Regions from separate parts of the Homo sapiens genome. Here region 1 is linked to region 2. Evidence: promoter capture Hi-C in human tissues and cell types (Jung and others, 2019). All regions are on one chromosome and are shown on one strand. Each heading gives the region's core, a stretch centred on a gene start or on the middle of the fragment in contact. The rest is flanking DNA. Distances are from core to core; before and after follow the strand shown.

Evidence for each region. Contacts are between HindIII fragments. The study calls those that stand out against the background at their distance.
Region 1: a contact is called between a fragment that was not itself captured here and the fragment with the promoter of C14orf132 in region 2, in 1 of the 25 tissues and cell types used here (dorsolateral prefrontal cortex).

What each region holds. Positions count from the first base shown.
Region 1 is chr14:95,536,400-95,540,257 of GRCh38, forward strand. All of the region lies in intron 1 of GLRX5 (glutaredoxin 5), which reads left to right. Among named protein-coding and RNA genes, the nearest start is that of GLRX5, 3.3 kb to the left of the region's middle. The HindIII fragment of the contact is 4,840 bases long and covers 1-3,670 here.
Region 2 is chr14:96,037,348-96,041,061 of GRCh38, forward strand. C14orf132 (chromosome 14 open reading frame 132) reads left to right here and starts at 2,015. Exons shown (of 2, transcript NM_001252507.3): 1 at 2,015-2,180. The coding sequence starts at 2,154. RefSeq lists silencers at 1,865-2,054, 2,075-2,124. The HindIII fragment of the contact is 15,410 bases long and covers 1-3,714 here.

The DNA.
Region 1 (3,858 bases), core at 1-2,500, 500 kb before region 2:
TGACTGAGTCCCTGCATGTCCCTAGCTAAAAAGAGGTGCCAGTTGTGTGCTAAAAATAGGTGCCAGGTTCTCTGTTACTCTAAATTCGAAATTACTAATCATAGTCATTGCTTACAATGATGAGACAGGCTGGTGTTTGGAAAAGCTTTGGGTTGACATCCTCTTCTGTGGCTAATCAGGTGTAAAACTTAAGTCACTCACCTGCATTTGAGGATAATGAGACAATTTGGCAAAGTTTGTGTTAGGAAGCCAAAGTAAAAATTATAGAAAGTGTGTATTATTTTACCTGGCACAGAAAGCACCCGGTAAATGGTAGCTGGCTTCGTATTAGCACTTGATGGTTTTCAAATGTATTTTTTCCCAGATTATCTAGTCCTTAAAGACTCTTGGGGATAACTGATCCTCCATTTGCTGTAGGTGATAGTGGTGGTGGGTGGGACCTAGAAAGCATGTTGAGTTGAGGAGTCGAGAGGGCAGGTTCAAATTACCACGTATATGTAATATTACCATGTGTTATTCTCATGACCCTTTTGTCTTCCTTGTCAACTAGTATGCCACCAGTTACTGGGCTCAGTTTTATCATGTGCAAGGCAAGGGACCTGCAGTCTTCCTTCGAAGACAGCTTCTCTGCTTAAAAGAGGAGTAACTATTTTGCAGTCTTTTGACAGAGACCTTGCAGGGAGTCCCCTGCAAATTGCCAATATGGCACTAGTAAAAAAGTGGTGTTGTTATCTCGCTTAGTATCATGTTTCGAGGGTCTTTGGTTTGTGAATTTATTTTCTCTTGTTTAATATAACTGGAAATGAGATATGCTGGAATATAGCTAGTAAACGGAAAATAGGAGCAAAAATACGAATATGTACTGATAACATTTTATTTTTCTGTCTTTTATCCACGTCTGGTGTCTGGTTTCTGAGCTTACTTTCTTAAGTTTTCAAACAGCAGCGACAGGAATTTAACCCTTACATTCCTTGACCACTGAGTTTCATCAGATTGCTATTTTGGTTAATAAACGCGTTGCATATATATTGAATATAACATACCTCTTTTATTGATTAGAAAAGTAAAGATTAGTAAGTATTAACATTTGGACTGGGCAGGGTGGTAAAAGCACGTTCCCCAAATGGGGATTAGTTCAGCCAGGTTATTAAGACTCTTCCCCTCTTCCCTATACAGCTTTATTTACCAAGAGCAACTAACGGGCTGTCCGATGCTTGCTTTTGCCAGCCGAAACTATGTTTGTACACCAGATCCAAGGTCATTTCTAGTAATAGGAACGGAGCTCTTGCAAAACTGGCCTTTTGTTGGTTCTTATGCCAAGGAGACCTGAACTTTACAAAGTGCCTAAACCGGAGGAAAACATTCTTTCCTAGTTTTGAGTACTGGGTTCCCAGGAGTGTGATACAGACACATCTTGAGACTGTGACCCAAGGAACAAAGGTGACTATGAGGCAGCATTGTGTTCTGGCCTTCTCAAGACCTTCTTGTCCTTCTCTTTTTATCTGGAGTGCACACAGAAGACAGTCACAAAGGGATCAGGTCCCAGTAGACTGACATCATCATTTCCTAATCCTGGTCTTAATAAAGGAACTTATGCTCATGGAAGCAATGTAGAAAACACTGAAAAGTTTAAAGAAGGAAAATCACCTGTAATTTATGGAAACTATTGTATTAACATTTAGATCTAGTTCCTAACAGTTTTTTTTTTTTTAACACATTGAGACCATGCTTGTCTATACATAGTATTTTGCCCTCCAGAGACGAGGGAATATGTCTTATGCCACTGCCTGTGGTGCTGTGTGTACCGCTTATGCAAAGCAAGCTTTCAGTGAGCATTTTAATAAATAAATAAATACTGCTTTTATTTATCATTATATTGCAAACTCTGCGGCCTTAAAGGCATTATAAACATTTGCTGCCGATTTAGATCATCATTGTAGTCCTTGCATCTGGAACAGTGACAGAATAGGGACTCAAATGATTTGTTGAATAAATAACCATATCCTGTTGTTGAATGTTTATTAAGCATTTGAAAATACGCTCCACCTTTTCAGTATCAGGGAATTGAAGACAGTAGTGAAACATGTCATGCTGGTGAACCTTAAAAGTTGGATAACAAGTTGTGTGTATGTGCTTGTGTGGTGCACATGTATGCTGCAGATGGGAGTATAAAATGGTACCAACACTTTGGAGGAGTAACTATCAGTACCCAGTCAAGCTATGGGTGAACAGAGCCTAAGACCCAGCTGCGTGACTCCTAGGTATATATTCTAGAGAGGGGGATCTGCAAACTTACCCTAGTAAAGGGCCAGAGACTAAGTACGTCAGGCTTTGTGGGCTGTGTGGTTTTTGTTGCATCTATTCAACTCTGCTGTTATATAGCCTGAAGTCAGTCATGGGCAATATGTAGATGAATGAGCAGGCTGAGTTTCAATAAAACTTTATTTATGAAAATACAGCTTTAATTACGAAGTAGACTGGATTTGGCCTGAAGACCATAGTTTATCTGTCCCTGGCCTAGAGACTGACTTCTGCATGTGTGTGTTAGGACATGGGTCCCCAACCCCCAGGCCAGGGATCGAGGACTTACAGCAGGAGGTAAGCGGTGGGTAAGTGAGCTTTACCGCCTGAGCTCCGCCTCCTGCCACATCAGTGACGACATTAGGTTCTCATAGGAGCACAAACTCTATTGTGAACTGCACATGTGAGGAATCTAGGTTGTGCGTTCCTTACGAGAATGTAACTAATGCCTGATGATGTGAGGTGGAACCGTTTCATCCCGAAGCTATCCCCACCCTTCCCTGGTCCGTGGAAAAATTGTCTTCCACAAAACCAGTCCCTGGTGCCAAAAAGGTTGGGGACCTCTGTGTTAGGATACCTGTGTTGGCGCGTTCATTGCAGCATGGCTTGCAATAATGAAAAACTGACAGGAAGGGATCTTGGTCTATTAGCAGCAGACCAGATAAATAAACTTTAGTCACATGATGGAAAGCTAAACTGTAGTTAAAATGAACTAGATCTAGATGTATTTAACATGGCTGAATCTCAAAAATACAATATTTAGTCAAAAAGCAAGTTGCAAACACGTAATTATGGCATAATACCATTTGTATATGTAAATGTTAAAGGCATAAAACAGTCCCATATATTGCAGATATGTGTGCAGTGCACTTGTAGCTCCTGGGCAGGAGTGAGATGGCAGCTAGAGGGTAGAGGCCACCTCTGGTGAGGGACTCAGGTAGCATGTGGTTAAGAGTCTGGGCTTTTGTACTCCTGGAAGCCTGGATATAAATCCTGGTTTCACTGCGCTGTCACTGTGAGTTTCGGTAAGTTACTTAACCCTTCTGAGCCTTAGTTTCTTCATCTTATGTAAAGTAGGGATAATTGTACCTGCCTTGTCAGATTTTTGTAAAGATTAAATAAGATTATTTTTGTAAAACGCTTAAAGAGTATGAAACTCAGTAATCCTTAACTCAATAAATGGTATATATATATATATTTTTTTTTTTTTGAGAGAGTGTTACTCTGCTGCCTAGGCTGAAGTGCAGGGGGCAATCTCGGCTCACTGCCACCCCTGCCTCCCGGGTTCAAGCGATTCTCCTGCCTCAGCCTCCCAAGGAGCTGGGATTGCAGGCACCTGGCACCATGCCTGGCTAATTTTTTTTATTTTTAGTAGGGACAGGGTTTCACCATGTTGGCCAGGCTGGTCTTGAACTCCTGACCTCAGGTGATGCACCAGCCTTGGCCTCCCAAAGTGCTGGGATTACAGGTGTGAGCCACCGCACCTGGCCTGAATGGCGTTTTCATTACTTTAGGGTATACTTAATCACTTTTTCCTGCTTTATTTTCCTATGCTTT
Region 2 (3,714 bases), core at 765-3,264:
CCCTGAGGACCCCTTGCACCTGTGCATCCAAAGACAAGATCGAGAGTATTCACAGCAGCATTTTTTTTTGGCGTTATCAGAAAACCTGGAGATGACCAAAGTATCCATCAAAGGGCTAGTGCATCAATAAAAACTGTGATAAGGACATACAAATGGAATATTGTGTAGCACTGAAAAACAATATACGTCAACTACACAAATAATGCTGAGAAAACAACAAAGAAGACATGGAAGAGCAAATTTAGAGCAATTTAATTTTTCTACAAAGGGTTAAAGCAGGTAATCTATAAAGGTAAAACTATAAAGAAAAGCAAGAGAATTGACAAGAGTGAATACTAAATAGGATGGAGGTGACCCTGGAAAGGGGGCAGGTAGGAGATGCCTTTGGAGAGATACACAGTAGGACTTCACGACTGTTTTTTATTGTTCCACTTTTTAACCTATGCAAGGCTATATTATTTTTCAAATTGCACACACACAACCTATACGCCCTTTTATTGTGAAGTATGCCGTGTACATAATATTTCTTACAGCAGACGGGGAGCCCTGGGCAGTTCTGGGCAGGCTGCTTTGCTATTGGCCACAGGAAGGGTGGGAGGAGGTGGGCGGCTCTTGGCATGGACTGTTTGGGCAGGCCCCGTGTGGACTAGGCTGGGAGGTGGCAGGAATGATGGGTGTGGTGAGTGCAGTACTGGCTAAAAACAGGGAGGGAAGGGAGGGCCAGGGAACTGGAGGGTTTAGAGACCAGAGGAGGAAGGGAGGAGGCAAGCATGACAGGAAAAGTGAAAAGAGAAAAGAAAGAAAAAAGTGGGGGGAAGGGGAGAGAAGGAGAGAAGGAAGAGGAGGAAGAAAAGGAGGGAGAAAGGAAGGGAAGGAAAAGAAAAGAAAGGAAAGTTACAGGAAAGATAACACTGAAAGCCTTCTGTAGGTCAGTGAGGTTCTGGTCCCATTCCCATAGCCACAGTCCCTACTGGGCCCCCAGCTGCCGGGGGACCTTGAACAAACCCCTCCATCTCCCTGTGCCACAGCTTCCTTGCCTGTGACAAAGTCTGGGAGTCCCAGGCTGCCCCTCACAGAGGCTCGTGATGACCATGAGTGTAAAGTACCTGGAAGAGACATCACCCAAAGGGACCAGTCGTACTCACTGAGACTCCTTAGAGTACAGCTGGTTCCCTCCCAGTGAGCCCCCGGAGGGCAAAGCCTCCACGTGTCACCAAGTCTGTGGTGTCCACCACACACACACACACACACACACACACATACAGAGCAATGGGCCCCTGTGGGCGTCTCTTCTGTTCCCCTTACTTGAACTGTGGCACCTGCATGATTTTCGATACTGGTTTGAGCTGAGAGCCATGGAGTACCCGCTGTGCAACCTGAGCACCGTGCGGTCCTCGAAGACACCACTCACAGCCTCGTCTCTATTGGATGATTAGCCATGTTAGGGCTCTCATTTATTGAGGACACCGCGTGCTATATTCCCTATCTCATTTAATTATTCGGTTCTGTATTCTCTTTTCACAGATGAGGAAATCTAGGCTCAAAGACACTATCTTGCTCAAGCTGCACAACAAAGCAGGGCTAGGATTAAACCTCGTTCTGCCCAGATGCCGAGCCGGGAGTACACCGGACTCTGGGAGGAGCGTTGGCGTGGAAAGCCAGGTCACTCCGATCTTGGTCCTCAGGCTCGGGATAACGTGTCAGCCCCAAGAGAGCGCTGCCCACAGCCCCGGGTGGGTTGGGTTCAACTGCACGGGGCGGGGCGCCAACAGCTCAGGACTTGGGTTGCAGGCTGGTTCTTGCACCAACCAGCGGGGCGGCCTCGGGCCTCAGTTTCCCCATCCCGCCCACGAAGGGAGGCGATTGCGAGCGCTTGGGGTTTCTGACGGACCCCGCCCCGGGGGTGGGGCGGGGAGTGGTCACGTGGAGGGGCGCCCCGTCCGCCGAGCCCCGCCCCACCCCGCCCCGCCCGCCCCCGCGCTCGGGGCCCTCCGCCTAGTAGAGATCTGGAGCCAGAAGCCCAGAGACAGCCGAGTGCGCCGTGCGGTCTCCGGACGCTCGCTGCTCAGCCCGATCCCCGCCAACTGTGCAGGCGGCTGACCCGCAGCGGCAGCGGCAGCAGCGAGGACTCGAGCGCTGGCTGCAGCGACACCATGGATCTCTCCTTTATGGCCGCGCAGGTAACGGGGCGTCCCCCCCACGCGCCCCGGGCCGCCAAGTTTGGGGAGGTTCGGGGCCACGGTCTCGCCCTCCACGCTGGGGCTGGGCAGTGGCGCCCGCCCGCGATCCGCGTCCCGGTCCTTTGTCCCGAGCCGGACACCCCCACTTGGTGCACGCGTCGGGGGCGGCGATCGCGGCTCTCCCGGGGTGGGGCGGGCTGCGCGCCCCGCACCCCCGCGGCTCGAGCTGTTCCCGCCCGGGCCCCTCTCGTTGGCAGGAAGGCTGCGAGGAGCCTGGGCAGCCCGAGTCGCCCCCTTCTGCCCATCCCCCACTGCTGTCCCCCTTCTGGGGTCCCGGAGCCCTCCAAGGCCGGGCCAGCTCAGACCCGCGCGAACGTGGATGGGCACACAGTCTCGCCCTTCCCCACTCTGTTTTCCCGAGGCGCCAGTAATCTGTCTCTTGCCGGTGACCTCGGGCGCCCCCTTTGCCGCCGCCTGAGGAAGGCTCTGAGACCCGCTTTGTGACCGTGACCCGCCAAGCGTCGACGCGCCGCGGTCGTTTGTCCTGTTTTGCTTTGTGTAGAGTCTGATGGAGCCACCAGTGCCCAGCGCGGCCAGAACCCCCCCACCCCCCTCCCCGACACAAACAGGCTCCCAGTGGCCGGAAAAACAAATCTCTCACAGCTTGAATTTTCCTCCGGCAGAATGCCCTGGAGTTCTGAGCTTGGGTGATGATTCTATTTCTGTGCCTTAACTCTCTTGAGCCAGAACAAAGACAAATCCCGGATTTCTCCATCAGTCTGTGACCCTAGAGAAGACCCAGAGCTGGCTCCAGGGAAGGGCTGCGTTTGGCCTGGGAGAGTAAGTCCCAATCTACCAAAGCCACATCTTGCACCTTCTCTGGTTGTGTTGGTTGGTTATGGTGGGAGCAGAGAGGTCGGGAGGCCACCCAGGCTCCCTTCTGTCTCCAGGGTGTGTGGCAGGGACCCCATCTGCTGCTGTTTTCTTTTACAGGGAACGAAGTTTGAGGGGACACTTGCTTTTTCCCCAAGCTTCACCTGTAGTGGAAGCCTGTTTAAAAAGTGACAGCAAAATCCAGACTGTGTGTGGACAGCGAGTCTGCAAATGGAGGCTTAAAAGATGCGGAAGCCCCAAGTTAGTTCTGGGGGTCTAGATCCTGGCTCTCCGGCAGCCCCTTAAGTTTTCCATGATGCTAATTGCCCTTCTGAGTATCGCTGGCCCTTTTTTTTTTGCCTGATTTTACATCTCCTGTGCCTAAATCCATACTTATAAAAATTGTCATGTAAACATCATTTTAGATAATGATGGTTTTAGCTACATGAAAACTAAGGAGGCTTTCCAGGATTTATTTCTAGACTGGAGAAGAACTGTGTCTGCCTTCCCCTCTGGATCCCACTGAACCTCCGGAATTTCCATGGTTAACAAGATAAACTGATCCCTGCTAACCCTGGAGCTGGCTGGAGCATCAGTTGCTGCCATGGCAACTTGACGAAATAAATACAGGGCTTTTTAACGTCTTCAGGCAGAATCTGCC